7 separate regions of the Homo sapiens genome follow, and regions 1, 3, 4, 5, 6 and 7 are each linked to region 2. Evidence: promoter capture Hi-C in 16 types of primary human blood cells and fetal thymus (Javierre and others, 2016). All regions are on one chromosome and are shown on one strand. The core of a region is centred on a gene start or on the middle of the fragment in contact, and the rest is flanking DNA. Distances in the headings are between cores, read along the strand shown. Region 1 has its middle 38 kb from the start of LINC01747. Region 2 holds the start of CD93 (CD93 molecule). Region 3 has its middle 20 kb from the start of LINC01747. Region 4 has its middle 78 kb from the start of LINC01747. Region 5 overlaps NAPB (NSF attachment protein beta). Region 6 overlaps LOC124904963 (a long non-coding RNA gene). Region 7 overlaps LINC01747 (long intergenic non-protein coding RNA 1747).

Region 1 (2,700 bases), core at 13-2,512, 360 kb after region 2:
GAGGCCAGTACTGGTTCCAGATCTACCAGGACTGACCCTCACCTCCTGCCCTGATGTGCCTCTGGGAGGGGCTGCCAGGCTGACTGGACAGAGGTGTGAGCTCTGAGAACTGGACTTGACCTCTGCCACAGGGAAGTCAGGCAGGTGAGAGGGGCTTCTCCAAAACAAAATCCTCCATAAAGAAGGCATCTGCATCATTCTTTAGCTGCTGCCCAACCTACATACTGAGCGCTCAAAGGAGTCTCCTATTCACCGAGCATCTTTTTTTATTTTATTTCATTTTTTTTTTGAGACAGAGTCTCTCTGTTGCCCAGGCTGGAGTGCAGTGGCATGATCTTGCCTTATTGCAACCTCCGCCTCCCAGGTTCAAGTGATTTTCCTGCCTCAGCCTCCCAAGTAGCTGGGATTACAGGCATTCACCACCACCCCCAGCTAATTTTTGTATTTTTAGTAGAGACGGTGTTTCACCATGTTGGCCAGGATGGTCTCAATCTCCTGACCTCATGATCCACCCACCTCAGCCTCCCAAAGTGCTGGGATTACAGGCTTGAGCCACCGCACCTGGTCTGAGCACCTTCTTTGAGGCAAACATTTATAGCTGGGCAGCTGGGATTCAGCCTGCAGTGATTCAGCTCATGAGCACAGCACAAACAGAAGCTGATCTGCAGACACATTAAACATCTTGCCTTCATTACTCTAAGTGAAGTAACTCTGGAATGGAAAATCAAATACCACATGTTCTCACCACAAGTGGGAGCTAAGCTTTGAGTACACAGAAGTATACAGTGGTGTAACGGACTTTGAAGACTCAGAAGAGAAAAGGTGGGAGGGAGTGAGGGATAAATACTATATATTGGGTACAATATATACTACTCAGGTGATGGGTGCCTCATCACCCTCAGACTTCCTCACTATACAATTCATCCATGTAAGCAAAAACCACTTGTACCCCCAAAGCTATTGAAATAAAGAAAGATTTAAACAAAAAAATCTTGCCTAGGGTCCCATGGCCCAGTAAAGAGCCTATCTGATCCCAAACCCCGTGCTCTGCTGGCACCTGTGTTCTGCTTCAGCAGATCTCAGCAAGGCAGCCCTGGACCCAGCACACCAGCCATGACCCCAAAGGAAAGGCTGCTTCCCCATGGTCAAAGGATTGTTGGATGGGACACATTGCTGTGGACTCTCTTTGTGTTCACATGACTTTTCTTTCGGGTCCTTAACACTTTCTCCTTTCTTATCTCACTTCTGTTCTTTCCACACCCTTCAATCTGCTCTGAAAGCTCTGAAGCACCCACCCCAGCATGGGGGACTGGAGCAGGCTGGCTGAGCAGGTGCCCTGTAGGCTCCACGGCCAAGCCCCTGGCAGCCCTTCTCTGCTGGTGGGCCACCAATTGGTGACGTCTGTACTCAGCTGCTGGGGGGACTGAGTTGCAACTGGCACTGCCCTGGGATGGCTGTGGCTGCAATGGCATGCTGGCTGGACTGTCCCCATCAGAAGCATCCCAGCAGTGCCTCACCCCCTGCATGGATGTCCCTGGGAGTGGGCCTCTCTACTAGCTCTGAGCTCCTCTTCCTTCCCCTTGGGACAGCCTCACTTTTCCTTCAGGAAAGGCAAGGCCCTTGGGCAGGAAGTCCCACACCCAATGGAACAAGCCCTTCAGGGAGCCCTTGACCCTGCTGTCAGCCTCAAAAGGAGACAGGGATGGATTGCAGCAGGAACATGTGGTAATGGGCCATGTCAGCCCAAGAAAACATAAGCTTAAGGAAGTGATCACTTGACATTTTATATACAAAAATGTCATTATTAAAGAGAATCATGAGGACTTCCATAAATATTTAAAACCCACTGGATAAAATATGACTATTTTTATGTTATGTATTTTTGTGAGCCTTATCATAGTGTAGAAAGAGTAGAATATTTTATGAAGAGTTTTACATAGAACTCATAACCTTCTCCAAACTTTTACTCTTTTTATTTGCTTTCTATTATTATACATTAGTATAATGTCTTTCCAATAATCATCTTTTTCCATCATTCATATAAGTCACGAAGTCATTTGTGTTTCATTACTTTTATGCTCATCTTGTTCCCAAGAAATGGATTTCTTTTGGAAGATAACAAAAGATCCATTGCATAATCCCATTCTTTCTAAATCCTCGAAAGAGACCAACACTTTTATCATTTTCATTGTTCTTAGGCTCTATTCTTTCACCTTTAAACTGTCCATGTCTAATCTATTCTATTCTAAACCTCTGTGGATAATTTGTTCTTCACATGCCATTTTAGGAGGGAAAAAAAAACTTATATAAAAACACTTAAGAAACAGACAGCTTAAAAAAAATGAGCAAAGGAACCTGAATAGATACCTCAGAGAAGAAGAAACCCAAATACATGTGAAAAGATGTTCCACCTCATCAGCCATCAGGAAAATGGAAAGTAAAGCCATGATGAGCTATTGTTACTGTCAAAGATAAACAGCCCGACACTAGGTAAAGGGGTAAGGACCGATTTTAGTAATAACTAGTGAAATAGGGAAAAGAGTCCTCCATGAAGGGAACTCAACTTCCATTTGTACGCAGGTAAACTGGCATTTTAAAAGGAGAATGAAGAAGTAGGAAGTGGGCAGGCCATACAGAAAAGTTAAAATTCATGAAATATCAGCCCGTGTAAACGAGACCAGGCTGACAATCCTCAGTGTT
Region 2 (2,700 bases), core at 115-2,614:
CCTCCTGCATCTCCCCTGACCCACACCCCAACCCAACTCTCCTCCCATCAGGGATCTCTTAGGAAGTGGCTGTCTTGATAGGAATAAACTGGACATGGGTCAGACGAGAGCCACAAGGGTGTCTGTCCATAGAAACAAGTTTTATGTGAGAGAGACCCCTGGTCACTGGGCAGGGCTAGAATTTATAGTCAGTCTCTCAAAGTGAGAGATACAGCCTGCTACCAATGACAGGGGACTTGGAGAGCAGTGGAGCCTCTCCCTCAGCTGAGATGGTGCTGAGGTGTGGTCCCCTCAGGCCCCCAGAGTTTCCTGGCACTGGCTCCAGCAGCCCAGGGTCACCTTCTCAGCAAGTCATCATGGGTTGGCTTCCTCCTTGTCTGTTTCACTTCCCCTCCCACATAAACTAGTCTCCCCAAATCCTGTCTCAGGGTCCCCTCCTGGGGGATCCCAACCAATGAGCAAAGGTCTGTGGCTGCAGGAAAAGCACACTGTGAGTCCCTGGCTTTTGCCGAGTCGCGGTGTCGCGGGAGGGCCTGCCCGGGCTTCGATTCCCGCTCCCTGCCCAGATTTCCGGCCCTTGCTAGGAATCCTGAGCCGGGGGAAGTGAGCCTGCAAGCCCTGCGCCACGAGGCCGGACACATTTTCATTTTCTTTCTGATGCTTTTTGTGACCCTGACACCTCACAATGCAATATTTCCACTATGAAACCCCCAGAACTGCCAAATTTCACCCAATTTGGATTAACATTATCGAGGAGCTTGGCATTATGTTGAAAACCCAGACATTCCCACGACCCGTATCCTATTTAAAAAATGCCTGTCTATTTAAGGTTCACGATGGGAGGATAAAAGAAAAAAGGCTCCCAAAGTCAACAGAGAACATGAGCTAGGCAAAAGGAAAGTCCAGTTTGCTTCTAAAAAAGGCTGAAAATTATAACCATCCATGGCCTTGTGTCTTAAGTCTCAGAATTTTTTTTTTCTCTTTTGGTGGTTTGCAAACCAAAGTGGAATTTTATTATGGGTTACTAAGGGAGCTTCCTCGAGTTCCTAGCCCCCAAAGCCCCTGCTCACTCCATGGCATGCCTCCGAGGCTCCTCATGCCATGAGAAAGAGAATGGAGCCAAAATCAAGCCGGCAGTATCTCGGGGCTGTAACGTCTTCCCCCCGTCGCTGTTTCCACAGTGCTGAGCCAGGGACCCGGCAGAGCTGCCTGACTCCTTTTATGAACAACAGCACCGTGATGAAGGCAGCAGGAGTCAGAGAACTATTCATTGCAGGAAGCCCCAACATCCGGTGAGAAATAAGAAGTACAACAGTACAGGATGCGCCTTGGGTCAGGGGGACGTGGAAAGCCCTCAGCCTTTGTGTCCTTCTCTGCGCCGGAGTGGCTGCAGCTCACCCCTCAGCTCCCCTTGGGGCCCAGCTGGGAGCCGAGATAGAAGCTCCTGTCGCCGCTGGGCTTCTCGCCTCCCGCAGAGGGCCACACAGAGACCGGGATGGCCACCTCCATGGGCCTGCTGCTGCTGCTGCTGCTGCTCCTGACCCAGCCCGGGGCGGGGACGGGAGCTGACACGGAGGCGGTGGTCTGCGTGGGGACCGCCTGCTACACGGCCCACTCGGGCAAGCTGAGCGCTGCCGAGGCCCAGAACCACTGCAACCAGAACGGGGGCAACCTGGCCACTGTGAAGAGCAAGGAGGAGGCCCAGCACGTCCAGCGAGTACTGGCCCAGCTCCTGAGGCGGGAGGCAGCCCTGACGGCGAGGATGAGCAAGTTCTGGATTGGGCTCCAGCGAGAGAAGGGCAAGTGCCTGGACCCTAGTCTGCCGCTGAAGGGCTTCAGCTGGGTGGGCGGGGGGGAGGACACGCCTTACTCTAACTGGCACAAGGAGCTCCGGAACTCGTGCATCTCCAAGCGCTGTGTGTCTCTGCTGCTGGACCTGTCCCAGCCGCTCCTTCCCAGCCGCCTCCCCAAGTGGTCTGAGGGCCCCTGTGGGAGCCCAGGCTCCCCCGGAAGTAACATTGAGGGCTTCGTGTGCAAGTTCAGCTTCAAAGGCATGTGCCGGCCTCTGGCCCTGGGGGGCCCAGGTCAGGTGACCTACACCACCCCCTTCCAGACCACCAGTTCCTCCTTGGAGGCTGTGCCCTTTGCCTCTGCGGCCAATGTAGCCTGTGGGGAAGGTGACAAGGACGAGACTCAGAGTCATTATTTCCTGTGCAAGGAGAAGGCCCCCGATGTGTTCGACTGGGGCAGCTCGGGCCCCCTCTGTGTCAGCCCCAAGTATGGCTGCAACTTCAACAATGGGGGCTGCCACCAGGACTGCTTTGAAGGGGGGGATGGCTCCTTCCTCTGCGGCTGCCGACCAGGATTCCGGCTGCTGGATGACCTGGTGACCTGTGCCTCTCGAAACCCTTGCAGCTCCAGCCCATGTCGTGGGGGGGCCACGTGCGTCCTGGGACCCCATGGGAAAAACTACACGTGCCGCTGCCCCCAAGGGTACCAGCTGGACTCGAGTCAGCTGGACTGTGTGGACGTGGATGAATGCCAGGACTCCCCCTGTGCCCAGGAGTGTGTCAACACCCCTGGGGGCTTCCGCTGCGAATGCTGGGTTGGCTATGAGCCGGGCGGTCCTGGAGAGGGGGCCTGTCAGGATGTGGATGAGTGTGCTCTGGGTCGCTCGCCTTGCGCCCAGGGCTGCACCAA
Region 3 (2,700 bases), core at 9-2,508, 380 kb after region 2:
CTTACATGTGTAAGTGAAGAGACAATAACTACCATCAGAAAACACAGAAAACTATAAAACTCACTGGTAGAGCTGATACACAAAGAAGGAAGAGAAGGAAATCAAACCTTATCACTATGGAGAACCACCCAACTACAAAAATAAACAATAAGAGTGAAAGTAAGGAACAAAGGATATACAAAACAAGCAGAAAACAATCAATAAAATGACAGGAGTAAGTCCTCACTTATCAATAATAACCTTGAATGTGAACAGGATAAATTCACCCATATAAAAGATGTAGACTAACTGAATGAATAAAAAACCAAGACCCAACTATATGCTACCTACAAGAAACTCATCTTATCTGTAAAGGTACATGTAGCCTGAAAGTAAAGGGATAAAAATGTATCTAAGAAATATATCCCTTTTGGTTTTTTGGACAAAACCAAAAGCAAGGAGTAGCTATGCTTGTATCAAAAATAGACTTCAAGTCACAAGCTGTCAAAAAAGACAAAGAAAGACATTATGTAATAACAAAGGGATCAATTCAGCCAGAGACTATAACAATTATAAATATATATATAAATATATATGCACCTAATATGCACCTAATAATACCCAGATATATAAAGCAAATATTATTAGATCTAAAGGAGAAGCTACCATAATTGTTGGGGACTTGAACACCCCAATCTCAGCATTGTGCAGACCTTCTAGACAGTAAATTAACAATGACAATTAAAACAACAACAACAACATTGGATTTAAACTGCACTATAGACCAAGTGGACCTAACAGATATTTATAGAACATTTCACCCAACAGCTGGAGAATACACATTCTTTTCATCAGTGCATGGAAAATTCTTTAGGATTGACCACATGTTAGAATACAAAACAAGTTTGAAAAAAAATTTATAAATCAAAATTATATCAAGTACCTTATTGACTACAATGAAATAAAATAAAACTAGACATCAATAGCAAGAATATTCAAAATAATGTAAATATATGGAAATTAAACAGCATTCTCCTAAAAGGCCAATGGGTGAAGGAAGAAATCAATAATGATAGTTAAAAATTCCTTGAAACAAACGAAAATAGAAACACAACATAGCAAAACCTATAGGTCATGGCAAAAGCAGTATTAAGAGGCAAGTTTATAGCAATAAATGCCTACATCAAAAAATTAGAAAGATTTCACATAAACAGCCTCATGATGCGCCTCATGAAATCAGAAAAGCAAGAACAAACCAAATGCCAAATTCATAGGAGAGAAATAATAAAGATCAAGGCCAGGCATGGTGGCTCATGTCAGTAATCCCAGCATTTTGGGAGGCCAGGAAGGGAGGATCATTTGGGGTCAGGAGTTCAATGTCAGCCTTGTCAACATAGTGAGACCATGTATCTACAAAAAATTTAAAATAAAATTAGCCAGGAGTGGTGATTCATGCCTCTAGTCTTAGCTACTTGGGAGGCTGGGGTGGGAGGATGTTTTGAGCCTAAGTTCAAGACTGCAGTGAACTATGATAGTACAACTGTACTCCAGCCTGTGACAGAGTGAAGCTCTGTCAAAAAAAAAAAAAAAAAAAAGCAAAAATAAATGAAATTAAAACAAAAAAAATGCAAAAGATAAATGAAACAAAAAATAGATTTTTCTGAAATGATAAAATTGGCAAACCATTAGCTAGACTAAGAAAAAAAAGGGAACATACTCAAGTACATGAAATCAAAAATGGAAAAGGATACATCATAAAGGATAGCACAGAAATAAAAAGGAGCCTTAAAAACTACTATAAACAACTATATGCCAATACATTCAAAAACTTAGAGGAAAAGGATAAGTTTCTGGACACATACATCCTATCAAAATTGAACCAAGAAGAAATAGAAAACCTGAATAGACCAATATTGCGTGAAAATATTAAATAGGTAATAAAAAGTCTCCCAATAAAGTTAAGTCTAGGACCAGATGACTCCACTGCTGAATTCCATCAAATCTTTAAAGAAAAATGCATACCAATTCTTCTCAAACTATTCAAAAAAACTGAAGAGGAGTGAGTTCTTCCTAACTCATTTTACAAAGCCAGCATAACCCTGAGACCAAAACCAGAAAATGACACAACAAAAAAAGAAAATAAAGTATCAAAATAGTTAAGATATTTTTGACAAAACGACAAAAATAGAAAAAAAATCTAAACTACATAAAAGACTCTAAATACCCAAAGCAATCTTGAGCAGAAAGAACAAAACTGGAGGCAATTACTTTACCAGACTACAAGATATACCACAAAGCTATAGTAACCAAAACAGTGTGGTACTGGCATAAAAACAGACACAAATACCAATTGTACAGTACAGTGGACCCAGAAGTTAATTCACATATCTATAGCCAACTGATTTTTAACAGAGTTGCCTAGGTCGCTCACTGAGGGAGAGGACTGTCTCTTCAATAAGTGGTCTTTAGAAAACTGAATATTCATATGCAGATGAATAAAACTCTCACTCTACAAAAATAAACTTAAAATGGATCCCAGACCTAATTGTAAGACCTGAAACTATAAAATTACTAGAAGAAAACAGGGAAAATGCTTCATTACTTTGGTCTGGGAAAATATTTTATGAATAAGACCTCAAAAGCACAGGTAACAAAAGCAAAAATAAACAAATGGGATTACATCAAACTAAAGAGCTTCTGCACAGCAAAGGAAGCCATTAG
Region 4 (2,700 bases), core at 169-2,668, 320 kb after region 2:
GCCCAGAACGTGTACCTCTGAGCCTCCAGCCCCTGCTTCCTGCAGCCTTTCACAGGCACACAGGCAAGCTGGGCACCCAGAGACTGCAAGGTCACAGGACATTGCTCACCCCCACACCTCATCTGATGGTTAAGGGAGGAGCCACCAGGAGGCATGAGTGATGCTGAGTGACACCGGATCACCAGATGAAGACCCAGGCCTCACGCCGTCCAGGTCTGCAAGTGGACAGCAGGTGACCATGGCCCTGAGATCAGAGCAATCATCCTGGACTTGTCAGGAAAGTGAACCCGAGTGGGGCCACCTCATTTGGGAACTTCTGCTCTACAGAGTCATGGTATTAAGATGATGGGTTGGGGCTGGGCACGGTGGCTCACGCTTTTAATCCCAACACTTTGAGAGGCTGAGGTGGGCGGATCATGAGGTCAGGAGATCGAGACCATCCTGGCCAACATGGTGAAACCCTGTCTCAACTAAAAATACAAAAATTAGCTGGGAGTGGTAGTGTGTGCCTGTAGTCCCAGGTACTTGGGATGGTGAGGCAGGAGAATCGCTTGAGGCAGGAGAATCGCTTGAACCTGGGAGGCGGAGGTTGCAGTGAGCTGAGATGGCGTCATTGCACTCCAGCCCGGGTAACAGAGTGAGATTCCATCTAAAAAAAAAAAAAAAAAAAATATATATATATATATATATATATATGATGGGTTGGGTTGGGAGGCACTGCTGACCATCTAAAGGGGGCACTGGTGTCTACAGTCCATCCCAAGGGACATACAGCCTCCTCCTTCTGTTAAGTGGGTACTTCAGGGAGCTGAGGGCTTGGCCCAGGCTCTAGGGGGACCATGAACTATTGGTCAGTTGTCAAAGGGGCATCACAGTCACAGCCTAGTCCTGTGCCCCTGGCTTCATCCCAGAAGGTGTGGGACAGTTCGAGTGGCCTGATTTGCCTTCTCTGATACAATTGTCTTGCTTTTACTGAGCTGAGTTTCTCTCTAGGTTTGCCTCAGCACAGCTCTTAAAATAGCAGCCAGTTAGGTTGGCCAGCCTGGAATTTCCTGGAACCGCCCAGCACGGGGCAGTAGGCACTCAGGCCCTCCCTACCTATCTATCCAGGGGCTGCCTGACCCATGGCTCTTTTCCTGCTTCCGATCCCGTCCCACCCTTTGAATTGGGTCAAGAGGGTTTGGTACTGAGTCTATCCAGGAGAGTCCACCACCACTCCCTTCCCCAACCCAGGGTGTAACAGGATAAAAAGGTATTTGGGGGGTTCCCATGGCAGGCAGGCTGTGGGCACACGGGCGTGGGGCCAGAGATGGGGGCCTGGGCATGACACTGTCTGAGGTTACAGGCTCAGCAGCATTCTCTCCATTTGTGGAATTTTTTCTATTAAATTGCACTTTCTCACTTGTTGGGAATGATTCAGAAATTCTCTCAAAGTTATGCTTTGCCGGTGAACTCTCTGGCATTTGAATAAAGGCACAGAGATCACTCCAGGCACTTCCTGGTGAGTTGAGCTGACACACCCGGCCTCTCCTTGGGATGTGTAGGGGTCTCATCTGGCCACGCTAAGACGTTTATGTTTTTCATGTAGGATTTCTTCTTGCTCACATTGGGGAAACCAGTTCACTTAAAACGAAAGAACCGCTACAACAAAAGACAGACAGACAGAGAGACAGACACAAATAGACAGTGGTGCCAGCCTGAGTGCTGGGTCCTGAGCACAGAGGAATGCAGGGCTCCCAGAATCTGGAGTCTGCCATCTCTCCACTTCCCCTGATTAGGGAGGACAGGGAAAGTCAGAGAATTAGAACAGGACTCTCTGGCACTGATGTCTGTTAACATTAAAGTATGGTGGTCCAACTTGAAGATATTTCTGCTCCCTGCCCCTGTGGGATCAAACCCTTTCCACATGGAACGCTGTCCCCTTGATACACACTCCACATTCTGAGTGTGTCATAAGTGCCCAGCCGGGGGTGACCCCAGGACACAGCTGTGAGCCAGGCAGACCTGCCCAGGCCCTCATGAGGCCTTGTCTTGCCCCACCCTTCCCTGGCCATGTGGCCTCTCTCAGCCTGTGGGGCACACTCTACAGGCCTGGGCCTGTCTATGCCTTCCAGGTGCCTTTGTACATCCACTGACATGTTAGGTGTTGCTTTTATATAATGCAAACTTTGGGCATGATTAATTTGAGGATTTTGGGACCTTCTCTTTGCCTGCAGAAAACATCCATTTCCCTTGGTTAACATTTCTACTTCCCAGGAAATGAAGCTGACACAGACTGCCCCTTCCTGGGGTGGCGGTGGGAGCTCATCTTGCCCCAGTGCTCTGTCTCTCTCTGCCTCTACGTCTCTCTCTCTCTCTGTCTCTGTGTCTCTCTCTGCCTCTGTCTCTATGTCTCTCTCTGTCTCTGTCTCTGTGTCTCTCTCTGTCTCTATGTCTCTCTCTGTCTCTGTCTCTATGTCTCTCTCTCTGTCTCTCTCTGTCTCTGTCTCTCTCTCTCTCTGTCTCTCTCTGTCTCTATGTCTCTCTGTCTCTGTCTCTATGTTTCTCTCTGTCTCTGTGTCTCTCTCTTTCTGTCTCTGTGTGTCTCTCTGTCTCTATATCTCTCTCTCTGTTTCTCCCTATGTCTCCCTCTCTCTGTGTCTCTCTCTGTCTCTATGTCTCTCTCTCTTTCTCTCGGACTCTCTGTCTCTGTTTCTTTGT
Region 5 (2,700 bases), core at 78-2,577, 330 kb before region 2:
AGCTTTTGTTTCTTGCTTTCAGTAAAATTAGATGAAAATATGCATATGTATTTATGAGAACATGTCAGTCAAATATTTCTTCTCTGTGTAAGGCACAAATCCTCTGCCTTATCTGCTTGATAGGTAAGGTATCAATATTCCTTTCCCATCCCCACCTTCCTCCCCAGGAAAAGAGCTGACAAGGGATGCAAACATTGCAGGAAACCACTGTTGTGGTGGTTTGTGTTTCTGCTTAATTGCCCGTTAAGCAGTAATGTGCTTTTGTAGTTGTGGAATTAAAACTTTTTCTCAAGTTTGTAGTATAGTACGTTTAGTAAAACTACTTCCAAAGGAGTTGTCTTGTCCTTTAGTTTGTTGCCAGGGATGAGCTATGGAATTTTGTAGTTAATTTCAAATTCCAGTTTATAATGTTAATGAACTACTGGTATGATTTTAAATCGGCCTGAGTCTGACATTAAGATAGTTTTGAATTGGAAAAGCCTCTTATAATACTATCCCCTCCATCTTGTTGCTATGAGACCCGGTTGGGAATAACCTGCACAATGCACATAGAAGAAAGTGCTTAAGACTGACAGTGGAGGCCAGGTGCAGTGGCTCACGCCTGTAATCCCAGCACTCTGGGAGGCCGAGGCGGGTGGATCACTTGAGGTCAGGAGTTTGAGACCAGCCTAGCCAACATGATGAAACCCCGTCTCTACTAAAAATACAAAAATTAGCCTGGCGTGGTGGCGGGCGCCTGTAATACCAGCTACTTGGTAGGCTGAGGCAGGAGAATCACTTGAACCTTGGAGGTGGAGGTTGTAGTGAGCTGAGATTGTGCCACTGCACTCCAGCCTGGGCCCCCGAGCGAGACTCCGTCTCAAAAAAAAAAAAAAAAAAGAATGCCAGTGGAAAGATGTTCTTTATGGTTAATGCTGTCTTCCTTTGCCTTTCAGTGTTTAGTCTGAGTTTACACAAGAGCTACAAATTTGGCAATGTCAATGTAAATTTAATGAAAGGCCCCATTGGGTTATCTTGAAATAATTATGAATCTATAATTTGTTGGTTGTTTGTGAAAATTGTGAATATTTCTTAAGCATTGTAGACTGTAAATTATCAGTATTCTTCACTTGTGTTTATTTCAACAAAGATTGCTTTTAAGTTTGGCCAAAATATGGTGGGGCCATGTGATAACATAGGTGAAGCATTTAGGTTTTCCTCAGTTACAATTCTTGTTCAAATGCAGATTGAACTTTTAAAAAAATTATTAGGCTCAGGTTTACTGACAGAGACAGGTGATACAGTATAAGAAATATATACGTATATTTGTGTATCTTTCTCAAAAGAAATCGATTATAAATTGAACAATTATTTTTATAAATTATATAATATACGTAAGAAATATAATTATATTATTATTCATGGGGAGACCAGGTAGAGGCTCAAGTTCTCTCATTTACTATTTTGGTGACTATAGTCAAGTAAATCATACTCAGAACTTGTTTTTTTTAGTTTTCAGATGGGCAGAGAGACAGAATCTGTTTTTCACGATTGTTAAGGATTGAATGAGGTCAGAATGCTTATTCAGTTGCACAGAGCTATATAACTTTATTATAATTGTTTGGTTTTCTGATTTTAGGTTGTTACAGCTTGGTATCAAATGATAAACTGTTACCAGACTGGCCTTTTTCTTGTTGCATTTTTGCAGTTTTCTCCACATATTCTTTCATTCTTGTGAGCTCTGTGAGGTGCAGTTACTCTGGAGAGAGGGAGGGCCAGTAATCATATGTGGCTCCTTGGAAGTCTGCCTGTTTTGTTGCTGTGGCTAACACCTCACCCAGCCTGAGGCATGCGTTAGGCACGTGGTAAATATTGGTGGAGAGAATGAATGTATTAATGCTAATACAAATGCTGATGTTTTTTCTTTTATTCTTACCTAGTTTTCAAGAGCAAAGCTATACCAAGTAAAGGAGAGTTTAAGTCGCTTTCTTCCGTTTTATTTATGTATTTATTTTTTTGAGACGAGCTCTCACTCTGTTGCCTAGGCTGGAAGGCAGTGGCGAGATATCTGCTCACTTCAACCTTGACCTCCTGAGCTCAAGAGATCCTCCCACCTCAGCCTCCCAAGTAGCTAGGACTACAGGCATGCACTACCATGCCTGACTAATTTTGTATTTTTTGTAGAGACAGGGTCTTGCTATGTTGCCCAGGCTTGTCTCCAACTCCGGGACTCAAGCGATCTGCTCTGCTGACCTCAGCCTCCCAAAGTGCTGCGATTACAGGTGTTAGCCACTGTACTAGGCATTTTATTTAAATATTTGCTTATTATGAACATTGTAGCTGTACACGGTAGAAAAGTACAAGGAGTACAGAGAGTTTTCTTTTTTTTTGAAATGGAGTCTTGCTCTGTTGCCCAGGCTGGAGTGCAGTGGCATGATCTTGGCTCACTGCAACCTCTGCCTCCTGGGTTCAAGTGATTCTGCTGCCTCAGTCTCCTGAGTAGCTTGGATTACAGATGGGTGCCACCACACCCAGCTAATTTTTGTATTTTTAGTAGAGACAGGGTTTCACCATGTTGGCCAGGCTGGTCTTGAACTTCTGACCTCATGATCCGTCCACCTCGGCCTCCCAAAGTGCTGGAATTACAGGCATGAGCCACCGTGCCCAGCGCAGAGAGTTTTCAGTTGAAAAGTAAAGTTCTCTGAGTCTTCTTTTTACGTA
Region 6 (2,700 bases), core at 46-2,545, 400 kb after region 2:
CTGCTAGGGAGTTCTGAGACAGAGTCAGGGCTGGTCACACCCCAGAGAGGCCGCACTGGCGATGAAGGAGCTGGAATATTCATATTCTGCAAGTAGTAAAGGGTTAACCTTGCCCAAAGAAAGGTGTGGCCCTGGCACAGCTCCTGGAAGGCAGCCTCTAAGTCCTTTAATCTCTAATGTCCTGTCTGATAAGTGTCTGTTTACCGAGGCCTTAGGCCACACCAGGTAGTTGATGCTAAGGATAGGATTCACAGTGGAGGTCTTGTATCAGCTTGATCTGTCAAGGGGCTGGAGACCAGGTCAGCCATGTAGATTGTCCATCATGTTTACGTGACCAAGCCTTCAATAAAAACCCTGGACGCCAAGGCTCAGGTCAGTGTCCCTGGTCAGCAATATTCCATGCATGCTGCCCCATGTCATTACTGGGAGAACTAAGCACTGCTGCAGAGCCCCACTAGGAGAGGACACTGGAGCACCACAGCTAGAGCTCTCCTGGGACCCACCCTAGGTGCATCTTCCCACTGCTGACTTCGACTTGCTGTGTAGTGTTGGAACCATGTGTAGTAAGAGGTAATCGTGAATCTGGTGACCTTTCTGGTTCCTATGAGTTCTCTTGAATCATTGAACCTGAGGGATGTCTTGCGTCCCTTGCATCCACCCATCACTGGGTAAGGACTGTCTCAGGCCCCCATGCAAGCAGGGTGAGCACAAGGGCTCCAGCAGCCTTGGGACAGCTGCTCACAGAGAGAAGCTGGCACTGGCTGTGGGGGTCATAGCGGCACCCAGGAACAGCATGCACAGATGGGGAAAGGTACCCCAGGGATGCATGGGGCACTGACAGGGCTGGAGGTCAATGTGAGGGCTTCAGTTCCCAAAGCCCCTGTTCTTCCCAGCATCTGGGTGTGGTATCAAGAATTACTTTGGCAAACTGATATGAAGATATTGGTAAACACGAGAACATCTCTCATCATTAATGAGTCATCATATGCTGTTACATAATCAGGCCCCAACCCCTCCGACCAGTGGTTAGAAGCAGAACAAGCTGTTGTGAACTATACATCTAATGCTAATTAGTATGGCTTTAGAGCAGTGCTTCTAGGGCTGCAGCAAGCCCTGGAGTCCCCTGGAGGGCTGTGGGCACACAAGGGTGGAGCCCACCCTCTGAGTCTCTGATTTAGCAGGTCTGGGGAAGGACCTGAGCATTTGCACTTCCAGCTCCTGGGTGACGCTGCTGACAGCCCAGCACACGCTTGGAGAAGACAACTTTAAAGGTGCAGCCATGGGGCGAGCTTGCCAGGGGCCAGTTCTCCATTCTGGTGAGGAAGACGGTGAGCAAAGGGTAACAGGGAAGGTAAATGGCCAAGAGGGCAGGAAGGGCTAGAGGTGGACATGGGTAGGGACACGAGTAGAGGACAAAATGCCCACGTCTCCAACTCCCCAGGGGAACAATTCCCAGGTGTGGTCCACGTGGTTTCTTAGACTTTGGCAGGCCTAAGCCCCCATGCCCACACAGGCTTTTTCCACAGAAGTGGATCTTGATGTGGCACAAAGAGGAAGTGCTGCTAAGAAAAAGGGAATTGAGTTCTGCTTGGTGTGGATCCTCCCAAAGTGGATCCAGAGACAAGGGCTTGGGTGCAGGCAGCTTATGTGGAAGGTGGTCCCAGGAAGCACAAATGAGGGAGTAGGGAAGTGAATGGAGGAGGCAAGGAAAAAGATAATGGAGGCGTCAAGGGCAGGTTACCCGTGTGAGCATCCAAACTCAATTCTCTGGGCTGGGGGTCTTGCCTGTGCTCCCCTTTCTAGGTAAGTACATTCACAGTGAAGCAGGCTCCTGTGATGGGGAAGCCCTCAGGCAGAGACAAGGGCTTGAATGGGAAGTTGTCAATTTACAGCAATCTGCCCCTCATGGCTGAAGATGAACACAGGTAGGCTGAGGGGATACAGGATGGGGCACCAACAATTTATCTGAGGGGTTTGATCAACATGTCATAAAGTGAAAAGAATCATGTCTGTTTTGCAATGAGATGCTTGTCACCCTTGAAGCACTGACAGAAGAGGGTGCCCACTGCCACCCAGACAGTGACTGCCCAGGATTCTGATGCAGAGAAAATCACATGCTTAACAGCAGAGAAATGCCACCTACCATTTAAAACAGGCCCTGACCCCATTCAGGAGGATGAGTAACAGTGAGCGAGGGCACATCCACTGCAAGAAGATGAATTCACAAACTCTAACACCCATGTCCCCTTGCCCAAAATTTAGCTCCAAAAATGATAAAGAAACACATTATTTTAAAACCACCTTACGTTTGACCTTGTCGTGAGTTCAAACTATGCAAACAAGTAAAGGAAATCATTGCAGATTGGGATACACGATGTGAAACAAATAAACAGGACAACATGATAGAAAGTAAAGTAAATTGCAGTGAGGGTGGGGTGAGTGGGTGCATTAGCTATGATTTTCAATGAGAGCCTCTGATAAAGTAACATTTGCTTTTTGTTCCCATGTTACCTGAGAGGGCAACAGAAAGTTTGAGGGATGAGAAAGTGGCAGCCACATGGAGCTCCAGGGAAGGAATATTTAAAGCAGAAGGAAAGCAAGTGCCAAGGCCCTGGGGTAAGAAAGAGGTGGGAGTCTTAGAACATGAAGGACGTGTGGCCGGGCGTGGTGACTCACACCTGTAATCCAGCACTTTGGGAG
Region 7 (2,700 bases), core at 124-2,623, 420 kb after region 2:
TGCAACCTCTGCCTCCCGGGTTTAAGTGATTCTCCTGCCTCAGCCTCTTGAGTAACTGGTACTACAAGTGCACACCACCACACTCAGCTAATTTTTGTATTTTTAGCAAAGATGGGGTTTCACCATGTTGGCCAGGATGGTCTCGATCTCTTGACCTCATGATCTGCCTGCCTTGGCCTCTCAAAGTGCTGGGATTACAGGCTTGAGCCACCACACCAGCCTACATTTAAGTTTTTAATCCATCTTGAGTTAATTTCTGTTGGTTTTATATATGATGACAGATACAAATCTAGTTTCATTCTTCTTCTTTGGACACCCAGTTTTACCAACACTATTTATTGAACAGACTGTCCTTTTCCCATTGTGTGTTCTTGGGCATCTTTGTCTAAAATTAGTTGGCTGTAAGTGTATAGATTTATTGCTGTGTTCTCTTTTGTGTTCCATTAGTCCATCTGTCTGATTTTGTGCCAGTACCATGCTGATTTGGTTATTACAGCTTTATAGTGTACTTTGAAGTTAGGTAGTGTGATGCCTTACAGTTTTGTTCTTTTTGCTTAAGATTGCTTTGGCTATTGGGGGTCTTTTGTGATTTCATATTAATTTTATAATTGTTTTTTGTATTTCTGTGAAGAATATCATTGATACTTTGATACAGATGGCATTAAATCTATAAATATGTTTAGTAGTATAGACATTTCAACAATATTAATTCTTCTAATCCATGAACATGGAACCTCCTTTTCATTTATTTATGTCTTCTTAAATTTGTTTCACCAACGTTTAATAGTTTTTATTGCAGAGACATTTCACCTCTTTCTTAAATTTATTCCTAGGTGTTTTTGTAGCTATTGTAAATGGAATTGTTTTCTATATTTCTTTTTCAGGTAGTTTATTATTAGCATACAGAAATGCTACTAACTTTTGTACATTGATTTTTGGAATCTGCAACTTTACTGAATTGGTTTACTAGTTCTAACAGCTATTTAGTGAGGTGCTTAGGATTTTCTATCTATTATCTCATGTCATCAATAAGCAGGAACAATTTAACTTTATTCTTTTTAACTTGGATACTTTCTATTTATTTCTCTTGCCTATTTGCTCTGTCTAGTACTTTCAGTACTTTGTTGAATAAAAGTGGAAAAGGTGGGCATCCTTGTCTTGTTCCTGATCTCAGAGAAACAGCTTTCAACATTTTGCCTTCCAGAATAATGTTAGCTGTGCGTTTTTCATATATAGCAAAGCCTTTATTGTGTTGAGGTACATTCCTTCTGCACCTAATTTCTTTTTGTTTTTTATCATGAAGGGGATGTTGATTTTTGTCAAATGCTTTTTCTGCATTTATTGAAATAATCATAGGGTTTTTATCCTTCATTCTGTTAATGTGATATATTATGTTTATTGATCTGAGTATGTTGAACTATCCTTGCATTCCTAGGATGAATCCCACTTGATCCTGCTGAATGATCTTTGTGTCACACTATTGAATTTGGTTTTCTAGTATTTTGTTGAGGATTTTTACATCTATTTTCCTCAGGGGTATTGGCTCATAATTTATTTTGTTGTTGTTGTATCCTTGTCTTGTTTTGCTATCAGGATAATGCTTGCCTTACAAAATCGGTTTGAAATAATTTCCTTTTGTTCAAGTTTTTGGCCTAGTTTTTAAAAGTTGATATTAATTCTTCTTTAAATGTTTGGTGGAATTCAACAGTGAAGCCATCAGGTCCTGGGCTTTTCCTTGATGGAAGATGTTTTACTATCGATTCAGTCCCTTTTGTTATTATCAGTCTATTTAGTCTATCAATCTATTTCTTCATAGTTCAACCTTGTTAGGTTGTATGCATCCTGGAAAAAATCTTTTTTTACACACTTTATATATCAAACAGAATGCAGATTGACACATGGCATTTGTTGTACATGCCTATGCTGATGTTGAAATTTCATTGAGGTAGTTTATTTTCTATTTTCCCATCTTTCTGCTTTGCTTCTCTGGGTTCTTGATACCATCCTTTCACTCTAATGACACTGTAGTTATTCCTTTACCAGGCTCAAAGTTTTCTCTTCTCCAGAGCATTCCTCTCACGCTGCCTCTGCTTGGGCTGCCTTTCACTTCAACCCATCCTTCTTTGTTGAAATCTCACCACCATTCAAAGCAGTGCTCATGTTCCTTGCTGACCTGCCTTGACTCCCTAGCTCTTCCTTGAGACCCTGGCACATCTGATAAATGGTTTGCAAAAGTGGCCCCAAAGCTCCTCCCAAGCATATATTCACACCTGTTTGCAATCTGACTCAAATTCCATCAAGAGATGGAGTCCATTTGATGCCTCTTAAATCCAGATTGGACAAATATTTTGGCTAAGGAGACATTAGAAAATATGGCACAGTGAAGATTTGAAAAGTGCTTGTTCATTGGATCTTGGCCTCTTTTGTTGCTCAGGATACCTCTGCCTCCGAGAAAATGAGACTGGGTTGTCCTGCTGAAGGAAAAGAGTCACATGACTATTGCTCAGATAACATCAAGCTAACCACCAGGCATGTGAGTGAGACTGTCTAAGATAACCCAGTTTCAGCTGAGCTGATCCAGAGCAGAAAAGCTGTCCAGGAACCAAGGAACCTGACAGATAAGTAATTTTTCTTACTTTAAATCTTTATATTTGAATTGGTCTCTTATCCAGCAAAAACTGCCTGATATGACACCTTCAC

The links. The method cuts DNA at HindIII sites, captures the fragments that hold promoters and counts their contacts. A CHiCAGO score of 5 or more calls a contact.
Region 1: a fragment that was not itself captured here is called in contact with the fragment with the promoter of CD93 in region 2 in 3 of 17 cell types (endothelial precursors, M1 macrophages and erythroblasts); the score reaches 10.4 in endothelial precursors.
Region 3: a fragment that was not itself captured here is called in contact with the fragment with the promoter of CD93 in region 2 in 1 of 17 cell types (neutrophils); the score reaches 7.0 in neutrophils.
Region 4: a fragment that was not itself captured here is called in contact with the fragment with the promoter of CD93 in region 2 in 1 of 17 cell types (neutrophils); the score reaches 5.3 in neutrophils.
Region 5: a fragment that was not itself captured here is called in contact with the fragment with the promoter of CD93 in region 2 in 2 of 17 cell types (neutrophils and monocytes); the score reaches 7.1 in neutrophils.
Region 6: a contact is called between a fragment that was not itself captured here and the fragment with the promoter of CD93 in region 2, in 7 of 17 cell types (neutrophils, endothelial precursors, M1 macrophages and 4 more). The highest score is 13.7, in neutrophils.
Region 7: a fragment that was not itself captured here is called in contact with the fragment with the promoter of CD93 in region 2 in 1 of 17 cell types (neutrophils); the score reaches 5.4 in neutrophils.

The regions. Positions count from the first base shown.
Region 1 is chr20:22,721,877-22,724,576 of GRCh38, reverse strand. No RefSeq gene overlaps it. Among named protein-coding and RNA genes, the nearest start is that of LINC01747, 38 kb to the right of the region's middle. The HindIII fragment of the contact is 996 bases long and covers 765-1,760 here.
Region 2 is chr20:23,084,988-23,087,687 of GRCh38, reverse strand. CD93 (CD93 molecule) reads left to right here and starts at 1,364. Exons shown (of 2, transcript NM_012072.4): 1 at 1,364-2,700. The coding sequence starts at 1,496. RefSeq lists an enhancer at 1,201-1,380. The HindIII fragment of the contact is 6,182 bases long and covers 1-2,700 here.
Region 3 is chr20:22,704,372-22,707,071 of GRCh38, reverse strand. No RefSeq gene overlaps it. Among named protein-coding and RNA genes, the nearest start is that of LINC01747, 20 kb to the right of the region's middle. The HindIII fragment of the contact is 9,619 bases long and covers 1-2,700 here.
Region 4 is chr20:22,762,104-22,764,803 of GRCh38, reverse strand. No RefSeq gene overlaps it. Among named protein-coding and RNA genes, the nearest start is that of LINC01747, 78 kb to the right of the region's middle. The HindIII fragment of the contact is 7,405 bases long and covers 1-2,700 here.
Region 5 is chr20:23,415,263-23,417,962 of GRCh38, reverse strand. All of the region lies in intron 1 of NAPB (NSF attachment protein beta), which reads left to right. Among named protein-coding and RNA genes, the nearest start is that of NAPB, 4.9 kb to the left of the region's middle. The HindIII fragment of the contact is 3,803 bases long and covers 1-2,700 here.
Region 6 is chr20:22,686,965-22,689,664 of GRCh38, reverse strand. The region is part of intron 1 of LOC124904963 (a long non-coding RNA gene); the gene reads right to left. Among named protein-coding and RNA genes, the nearest start is that of LINC01747, 3.0 kb to the right of the region's middle. The HindIII fragment of the contact is 4,909 bases long and covers 1-2,700 here.
Region 7 is chr20:22,669,255-22,671,954 of GRCh38, reverse strand. LINC01747 (long intergenic non-protein coding RNA 1747) reads left to right here. Exons shown (of 3, transcript NR_146527.1): 3 at 2,435-2,700. Among named protein-coding and RNA genes, the nearest start is that of LINC01747, 15 kb to the left of the region's middle. The HindIII fragment of the contact is 3,211 bases long and covers 1-2,700 here.